Regions from separate parts of the Homo sapiens genome. Here region 2 is linked to region 1. The links are contacts of gene promoters, found by promoter capture Hi-C in blood cells and fetal thymus (Javierre and others, 2016). All regions are on one chromosome and are shown on one strand. The core of a region is centred on a gene start or on the middle of the fragment in contact, and the rest is flanking DNA. Distances in the headings are between cores, read along the strand shown. Region 1 holds the start of GAL (galanin and GMAP prepropeptide). Region 2 holds the start of LOC124902704.

Region 1 (4,667 bases), core at 1,259-3,758:
CATTGCTTTTGCTGCATTTCTAGCAGATCCTAGAAATCAAAGGCACATTTTTAAGTATTTTGACAAACAACTCGTCTAGCTACAGCTGAACAGGGCCGTAAAATTGATGGCGAAAATGAGTTTGTTTTCTAATTAGGGGTCAAACTCTTCTTGACAAATAGATTTTCAATATTCCAAAGCAACACAGATAAATGTTCTCATTGACCAGTTCTGCCTTTGTTTTGGGCCCGTAGCACACAAAGATGAGGTGCCCTCTGAGTGGCAGAGCTCAGGGTTGCAAAGGGTTGAGGAAATCAGCCGACCCTCAGGCAGGTCAGGCCACTCCATGGGCAGGGAGAGGATGAGAGGGCCGCACAGAGACCAGCAGGCTCTGTGGTGAACAGCCTGGACCGATCCGCACGCGGCCTCAGGCGGCTCTGTCATCCCCGTGTCTGTTTCTTAAAGCCTGACTCTGGGGGTCCTCTGAGTGACCCCGATAAACAAGCGTCTGCAGGAGGAGGAAGCTGTATTCGACTCTGGGACTGAGAACTAAGTCAGCTTTCCTTGGCATGGGGAGAAGAGCACCATTCTCCCCATTTGCTGCTCCGCGGGGCTCAGATAGGCCCTGCGTGCTGTTCACATCCTTCCTCTGGCAGAAGGCAGTACAGGGAGGCTTTTAAGGTGGATGGTGAGGTGTGGAGGGGAAGGTGAGTTACAGGAGGGAACCAAGGCCTCCTCTTGTCCCCTCCTTTGGAGGAAAGTCAGAAGGCATTGCTGCACAGACCAAGGATGTGGAGAAAGTAGAGGCCTGGGACAGGGGCGGGGGCGGACACGGGGAGGTGTCAGCCTGCAGTGTCCCATCTAGGGCTAGGGCTCACCTCAGGCAGCAGGGGACACCGCTGACACAGGTGACAACAACAGGACAGGGAGAGGGAGGGGACACAGGCTTGGGCAGGCAGGGTCACCTGAACCTTGTTTTGAGGGGAGCCTGTCTGGGCTGCCTTCAGGCGATCTGGCAATTCCCGTGTGGAGCTTGGAGAAAGGGAAGAGGGAGGCAGGATTTGGGGTCCGCTGACCTAGGGTGCTCTGCAAGCCGAGGAGTTGAGTGTTTTGGGAGACCCGGGGGCCTGGGGAGAGGCCCAGAACAGGGCCTGTAAGGACTGCAAGGCGGGAAAGCCCAGGAGAACTTGAGCAAAGCCCAGGGTGGGAATCTCACCCCGGGACAGGGCGGCAGAGCCGGGGCAGGAGAAGCTTCTGGAAAGAACCGTACACAGATCAAGTGTGCAGAGCAATGGAGACGGGCAATGAGGTCAAGAGGGAGGCCAGAGGGTCTGCCCAGCCGCAGGCGGAGGGGCAGGAGCCAGGGTTCAAAGCGAGGGGCAGGTGGGGTCAGGAGTGGGGAGGCCATGCTGTCAGTCACTTACGTGGGCCCAGCAGGTAGCCCGCGCTGTTCAGGGTCCAGCCTCGTTTTTCCTTGGCCTTGAAGGGAGAAAAGGGGATCAGATGCCAGGGCTGTGCCTGGAGCCTATGCTGAATGGGTGCACCCAGGCTTTCCCGGCATGGCAGAGGACTTAGAACAATGCATGTGCTTTTGGATAGCTCGCGAAATTCCAGGTTTACCCCTAAGTCGGCTATATTTGACATGAAAATGGAACCACTTTATTTACGAAATACTTCACTTGAGGGCCTGAGCCCGCGCACTCTCAGCGCACTGCACCTGCTTTAGTGACGCTGAGGCCACGCCAGTGGCTCCTAGCCCTCCATTCTAACTAAGCCCTGCGGAACGGGCGAGCTTCTCGCTTTCCCGAGGCGCTGACCCGAAGCGCAGAGCTCTCCCGGCGGCCTGGTTATAGCCCGGGGCTGTTGATACACTCGGAGAAGCGCGCGGGGGGAATCCCAGGGAGCCCCGGACCCTTCCCGCGACGCCCGCAGCCAGGACAGCGCCCGCCTTTCCACTTTCCACCCCCATCCCCGCGGGCAGGGCGGAGGCTGCCTCCTCCAGGAAGCCCTCCACGCCCGGCCGGCTCTGATGTCCCCTTCGCTCGGAGGAGACGCGCCCCGCACTTACCGGCGACCAGAGCCCCGCAGAGGCAGAAAGGGCCGCGGCGAGGAGGAGGGAGGCGAGCAGGAGGGCGCTGCCTCGGGCCATCTGGAAGGGAAGGACAGGGCGGGCGGGTCGGAACCCGGAGTGGGCTGCGCCCCGAGGCAAGGAGTGCCGGGGCTGCGGGGAGGAGCAGAGGCGGCGGCCGGGCCAGGGCCCTGGCAGAACCGTCCCTGGGCAGAGGAAAGCCGAAGGGGAGGCCTCCCGGGGGCGCAGGGTCGGCCCGGCGCCAGTAGTACCTTGAGCTGCGGCTGCGCCCGGGTTCGGAGCGTCGGGGTCCGGGTGCGGTGGCGGGTCTGGGCGGCAGGTCCGGGCGTCGGGCCGGGTCGGGTGGGCTCTGGCGGCCTGGGGCGCTCACCGCATGGCGCGGCCGGCAGCAGGGGCAGAAGGCGCGGGCCGGGTCCCTCCACGTGTCCGCCGCCCGGTGTGGCCGCCGCCACCGCCGCCGCTGCTATATATGCGGCGCACCCGGGAGCCGCCCGGAGTCGCGTCACCGGCTCAGCGCCCGCCTCCTGCACCCTCGCCGAGCCCCGAGGGCGACGGGAGTGACCCGAGCTCGGGTCCTCTGGGCCATCATAGGCGGGTGCGGCGGAGAGCCCCCCCTCATCCCGCGGGAGAGACTCCCCCAAATCTGCAGAGAGAACCCCAAACCCTGTGGGAGAGACCCTAATCCCGAAAGACAGAGCCCAATCGCCCCGCGGGAGAGCCCCCAGACCCGTGGCCCAAGTCATCGCTGTGGCGTCAACCCCACTGCTCCCCCCGGGGTCCCAGCCCCAGAGCAAGCCTGACCCCCCACAACGTCCCACGCCTGCGGTCTCCCTGCAGCTTCTCCTCCCAGCCCCTACCGCTGCAAAAGCCAGCTGAGCTCCGCAGCACTGGAGACCCCAGAGGGTGACGGGCAGGGACGACTCCTCAGTCCGAGCCAGCCCCAGCTGGGAGGTCATGGGGTACCCGGGGAATGGCGGGCAACACTTGGCCCTGCGCCCTGGCCGGCTTGTGCTGGGGCTGGAGCGAAGGTTCAGGCCTCGGGAGCCGTCGATGGCGGGGAGGGCAGGCGTTCCCGGCTCCCTGTGCCCAGCGACCTCCCTCCTGTTTCACTAAAGGGGGGCTGTGGATCTCAGGGTCTGCTTGGCCATCCCATTGTGGGAGCTGCGGGACCGTCGAGCATCCACAGGCACCAGCTCAGAAGCTCGGCCTCTCAGTGCCTCCCCTGGCTGCCTGGTCCAGTTGTAAGAGGGAGCTTTAAGCAGGTCCAGCCATTGGGCAACTGGTTAGGTCCAGAGGGAGAGCAGCCCAGACTCCCAGAGGCCGCCAAGGGGTGGGCGGTGGGCAGAGCAGCAGCAAGAGGCTGTCCTTGTGCCCAAGGCAAAGACATCCCACAGGAACAAGGCCCTCCTTGGCTCCTCCACAAACCCTTCCTGAGCTGGGGCCAAGTCCCGAAACAACCCAGGAGAGAACCCAAGCCTAGGCTGTTCCTTCACCCCATTCCCAGGCATCAGGGGAGCACAGGATCCCAGGCATCACACTTGTACAGTGTGGCACCTCCGGGCTTCCGAAGAGCACGGGGTCATCTGCTGAAAACTCGCCTGACCTCCCCTCCCACTGGCCAGACACCACCCAAGTCCTCAACAGCAGCAGCTGGGTTAGGATCTCCCCACCCACTGGGCTCAATATCAGATGGGTTGATGTCACATCTGTGGGTTGATGTCCACAGGGCACAGGACGAATGATGATCATGACAGTGTCATCTTACCTGTCCTCTACACTTTAGTCTTGGGAACCTTTGCACAGACAGCTACAGGCTGCCCCCAGGAGAGATCCGTCTGCCTCCACGTGGCTGGGGAAGGACAACTGGGCTTTCAAGAACTCTGGCGAAGGCCAGCGGCTGCTGGAGAAGGTGCAGGGCTGCAGCCTGGTGGCTGAGTGTCTGCTGTGGTTTATGGGAGGAAGAGGAGGAGACAGGACTTGGGGAGGGGTCTTAGGAACAGACTCCTGGCACGACAGTGGTGAGGGGTGGGGTGTTCCCAAGGGCACAGTTTGACTTCTGGTCATCCCTATTTCTTGCAGCCTGGGGAGAGGAGAGTCAGGCACAGGGGACCCTAACTAGGACTCACAGGCTGATTTCGGAGCCCACAGTAAACCCTGAAGTGGTTTCCTGCCGGGAGTGGGGGCGTGGGAGACAGTGAGTCGCCATGAGAGTCTGGGCCAGCCGTGGGCAGAAGGACAGCCGAGAGGCGGAGGAGCAGAGGGCACGTTCCTGTGACTCTGCAGAGAAGTGACAATGATGTCCTCTCATGCCCCATGTCCTTGTGTCTAGATGACATCAGGGAGTGGGCAGGGGCTGGGCTCATGGGTGCCTCTTGGCTACCTGAGAAATACTGCAACCTTTGGCCCCCGGTGGTAGTGGGAGCCCTGCTACCATCCCAGAGCTCTTTCTTGCTTTCTGCTGAGAACAAATCCAGCCCAGTGCATAGCACATCTTAGTCAATTCCAGCCTTCTCCTTTCTTCCACGTTAGGCCCCCTTCCAAATCCTGCCAGAGCTTGACTACACTTATTTTCTCTATTTACTTTGTCACAGAGGCTCTT
Region 2 (4,667 bases), core at 1,442-3,941, 970 kb before region 1:
CCCGGGAGGCGGAGGTTGCAGTGAGCTGAGATCACGTCACTGCACTCCAGCTCAGGCAACAGAGCAAGACTTTGTCCCCCCCCAAAAAAAAAGATGTAAGTTAAGGTGAGGTCATACTAGAGTAGGGTGGCCCCTTCGTCCAATATGACTGGTGTCCTTTTAAGGGGACGGGAGCCAGTGGCACAGAGGAGAGACTGCCACGTGAAGACATGGGGCCGATAGCCCTGTGAGGACAGAGGCCGAGTTTGGAGCTGCGCATGGACCAGCTGAGAAGAGCCGAAGGTCGCCCGAAACCACCAGAAGCTGGGAGAGAGCGGGCACTGCAGACACTGCTGGCCTCTGGAACTATGAGAGAAATGTTGGTTGTTTTAAGCTGCTGAGTGTGTGAAAATTCATTACAGCAGCCACAGAAAACTACAAGGCCCCTCTCCCTGCCTGGGCTTCGTTTGCTGGTCTGGAGGGTAAGGGTGCCGGCCACACCATCCAGACACTTCTGGCCTTGCATGTGGGGCCTCCTCAGGGATTTGCCTGGACTCCCCCAGGTCTCAGCCGCCACTGAGGGCAAGTGGCGGGAGCCCCCGAAAGGCGCTGTGACCGCAAGGCTCACTCTCCAAGAGGCCTCTGCCTTCTGGGAGGCGCAGCTGCCCTGCACAGAGGACTGAGTCAGGGTCCACCAGAGAAGGCTGGCTTGAGCCTCTCCCCTGGTCTCAGCCCCTGCAGGCACTATCCGGCCTCAGAACTTGGGATATGGATGTGGTCAGGCCCTTTCTCCAGGTCAGTTTGGTCACACGTGTGCTCTGTTACACACAGAGTGTGTGCCATGGAAGAGGGACCTGTCCCTTCAGACAGAGCAGTTCTAGGCATACTTCTGGGCACTGGTGGCCCCAAGAGGAGTCATTCCCTGACCCTGTGGAACTCCCAGCTAAGCAAGACAGGCATGTTGAAATTCCAAGATCACATGGTAACTTTGTCAGTCGCTCCTGTTGTTTATATCAATCATAACATGTTAGATCTAGAAGAGGTAGAAAACACACACAAGCGGCCGGGTGCGGTGGCTCACGCCTGTAATCCTAGCACTTTGGGACGCCGAGGCGGGTGGATCACGAGGTCAGGAGATCGAGACCATCCTGGCTAACACGGTGAAACCCGGTCTCTACTAAAATACAAATAATTAGCTGGGCGTGGTAGCGGGCGCCTGTAGTCCCAGCTACTCGAGAGGCTGAGGCAGGAGAATGGCGTGAATCCGGGAGGCAGAGCTTGCAGTGAGCCGAGAGCAGGCCACTGCACTCCAGCCTGGGCGAGAGTGAGACTCCGTCTCAAAAAAAAAAAAAGAAAACACACACAAGCTGTAATAGTTAAGTGTCTTTGAAAACCAAATGACACAGTGCCCATATCAAACTGACTTAATGAAGGACAATGATTGGCTTCTGGAACAAAAGGGGGATGACTTCAGGAGAGGCTTGATCCAGCAGTTTGTCTGGAGACCCATTCCCTGCTTTCCCTCAGGGCTGGCCTTACGCTCAGCCTCCCCTGTGAGGTCCTGGGAGCAGCTCAGTCTTCCCTTAGGGCTGCAGGGGGGCAGTGCCACCCCTGGGCTTGTGTTTCCCTGCTGGGAATCCTAAGGAAGGGGGAAGCATTATCTTTTTCAGAAGCTCCAGAAAATGTCTCCTCAAGACTCAATGGCTCTATTTGATTTCTCACCCATCCATTAACTTGCTGCTCTTCTGGTGGGTGTGGATGTGCAGTTGGGTTTCAGCCTATGAAGACCTGGCCTGGAGCTGGGGATGGGTTCGGTCCCACTCAAACCACAGATCTGGGAATGGTGGTTCCCTGGAGCAAAGTCTGGGTGCTGTCAACACCAGGAGGGGGCATCCGTGGTGTCAAGAAGACCCAGAACTGTCTACTTAATGTGCCAAAGGAGGGAAGTAAGATCGGCTTTGGTGCCACCACCCAGGCGGCCGCCGTGGCATGGAGGCCTGTGCTTCCAGACCTGGGCAGTGCATGGAATGCTGATGGTGATTATGCGGATGCGCCGAGGGGATGATGGCGTTCCCTGAGTGATCACTGCACCCCAAGCTCGGTGCTCAGCAGTGCTTCACACACATTGAGCCATAGAATCCTCAGCACCCCAGAAAGAATTCAGTTATTGACAGAGATTTATGGAGCCCCCGTTCTGTGCTGGTCGTTGTCGTGAGTAGGAGATGGAGACGACTCCCCATCATGGGCTGTGTTCTTGCAGGATTTCCCCATGTTATAGGTGTGAACATTGAGGCCCAGAGAAATGAGGCCGCACAGCTGGAAAGCTGCAGATCCGAGATCCAACCCCAGGGCCTTTTACTCCAAAACGTGTGTGCTTAATGTGTGCCTATACATGCCGGTGAGTTTTCTTTTTAAACAGCTGGTCACCCTCAGATGTCCACTGCCGGCCTGTTTGGCTGCCCTTCTCCAGGCCAGCAGCCAAGACACAGTGCCGCCCGCAGGGGCAACCTACTGGGAGCCTCGAAACAGGTGGAGCTGGCGAAGCAGGGCCCTGAGCTGTGTGCGTGGGGCCTGGCTGCAAATGGCCCAATGAAGCCTCCGTGCATTTCCCTTTTTGAAGCTTGAGCCTTTTCTTCTCCATGAGGCTGACCCACCAGGCTGGCTTGGTCACACACTAGCTGTGCAGTCCTGGCTCAGTTACTTTACCTCTCTGGGCCTCGGTTTACTCATCTACAACAGGGGTCGGCAAACTACCACCCTCAGCCTGAATCCAGTCTGCTGCCTATTTTTGTAAATAAAGCTTTATTGGCACACAGCCATGCTCACTCATTCACAGAGCGGCTGCAGCTGCTTTTGCACAGGGCAAGAGAACCTGTGGCCCACAAAGCCTGAAGCCTCTCTCTGTGGCCCTTTCCAGAAAACCTGCCAATCCCTGACCTAGCAGATGGGATGATTGTGTGCGGGAGAGTGTAGGCTCTGGGAGGGCAGGGCTGTGTCTGTGGCTGCCACCAGAGTGTCCCCTCCCTGTCACCAACCCATGGGGTCGTTGCAAAACTCAGAGAGAAACTGTGTTCGGTGTTGAGCACAAGGCACACAGTGCGTGCTCAGTAACCTCCAGCTGCGATTCCTCCCGTGATTAAACAAAGGCAAGGAGGACTGCCTCGACAGGCTCAGAGGGCCCAGGGTCTGGAATAGGAGCTGATCCTCGGGTTAGACCACTCAGCTCTTAAAGTGGCTGCCGGTTGAGAGGCTTGTCTCAGCTGCCGCTAGGTGCAAATTAAAAGGATTAATGGACACCGCCGTCTTTGAAAGGCTCAAGGCCCACCGAAGCCCCTTCAGCAGAGGGCTCTGCATTCTCTCTTCCCCAGCCCTCCTTGTGTGCCCTCGTGAGTGGCGGTGACAATGCTCCCGGATGTGGGCCCCAAGGCCAGCGGCCCCAGAGCTGCCCGCCCACCCGTCCGCCTGCTATTGTCTGCTCAGGCCTGGCGGTGTGGCGCTGGGCTTGTGGGGCCCTGGCGGGCAGGGGACTGTGGGAACGGATTAGAGGTCCTGGGCTTGCTTTCCTCGTCTTGCATAAACTCTTGATCAAAGACATTCCTGGGATGACAGAGCCCTGTGAGCTGCGAGGCTGGCCCAGAGTGCGGGACGCACACCCCACGCTGCAGCCCCTGCACAGGCCTGCCCTTGCTGGCCCTCGCTGGCCCTGGCTGCAGTGCTGACTTTGGGGACTAGCCTTATGGTGGGACTGGTGATAGAGCGGGTGCCAGCAGGCAACACAGCCTTCCCCACCAGATTCAGAGGCCAGGCCCCCAATGCTGGGCAGAGCGAGGCTGTGACTGCTTCCTGGGGTGCTTCAAGGAGGGTCACGCTGCATGCAGGGTAGCCGGAGGGATTGCCGGATGCATGCCACTGCCACTGGACCTGGCTTCTCTGGACTCCCATGGGCAGTGCACCACCCTCTGCACAGCCCTAGCCACTGTTATCCCACAAGCGCGGTCCGAAGTCCACGTGCCCACTCTGCCCAGCCTCCTTCCTCTGTCCCCTCAGGGCCTTTCACTCCTTGTGACAACTCTAGGTGCTGTCTGGGCTCCTGGGGAACCCCCGACCCTTCCAGCCATGGAATCAGCTCCCGGCATGCGGGTCAGGCTGGACCCATGGCTCTGCACCTCAGCCCAGCAGCTTGGGGCTGCCCTGTAGGAGCCGACACGACCTCCCTTCCATTCGGCCCCCTTCCTAGGACCCACTGTATGCCAGGGTGGGGAGACGGAGGCAGAGAGAAATCTGGGAGATTTCCGTCCTGGAGGGGCTCAGCCAGAGCAGGAAGGTGCCCAGGCATGACAATCCCAGACTCCCAGAACCACCTGCCTGCTGTGGGGTGGGGAAGCCCTCAGAGAGCCCATCCTTACAGTCAGAGCAGAGATGAAGGTTCCTGTGGACCGAGGCGGTGGGCCAAGCGCAGAACAGGAAGCTGGATGCAGTCTGGTGTGTCAGGAGCTCCTGGGCAAAGACATCGAGCTTATTGGGGTCAAGGCTGGGGAGAGATGGGGCTGAGTCCCAGGGACCTTGGACGGAGCTGAAGGGAGATAGGAAGGCTGGGGGTTGGGGGCAGAGGATGAAGAATGGATGAGGACTGTCTGGCTGCAGGGAGATGGGCCAGGAGGCAGGGCAGGTAGGGGTGGCGGGCGTGT

What was found. Contacts are between HindIII fragments. The CHiCAGO score rates a contact against its expected background, and 5 or more counts as called.
Region 2: a contact is called between a fragment that was not itself captured here and the fragment with the promoter of GAL in region 1, in 1 of 17 cell types (total CD4 T cells). The highest score is 5.1, in total CD4 T cells.

The regions. Positions count from the first base shown.
Region 1 is chr11:68,682,385-68,687,051 of GRCh38, reverse strand. It overlaps GAL (galanin and GMAP prepropeptide), which reads right to left and starts at 2,508. Exons shown (of 6, transcript NM_015973.5): 1 at 2,320-2,508; 2 at 2,048-2,128; 3 at 1,404-1,458. The coding sequence starts at 2,128. All of the region lies in intron 2 of LOC107984343 (a long non-coding RNA gene), which reads left to right. RefSeq lists enhancers at 1,762-2,437, 3,114-3,789. The HindIII fragment of the contact is 13,008 bases long and covers 1,233-4,667 here.
Region 2 is chr11:69,657,100-69,661,766 of GRCh38, reverse strand. It overlaps LOC124902704, which reads left to right and starts at 3,852. Exons shown (of 1, transcript XM_047427985.1): 1 at 3,852-4,569. The coding sequence starts at 3,852. The coding sequence ends at 4,556. RefSeq lists enhancers at 1-412, 413-913, 3,293-4,020. The HindIII fragment of the contact is 180 bases long and covers 2,602-2,781 here.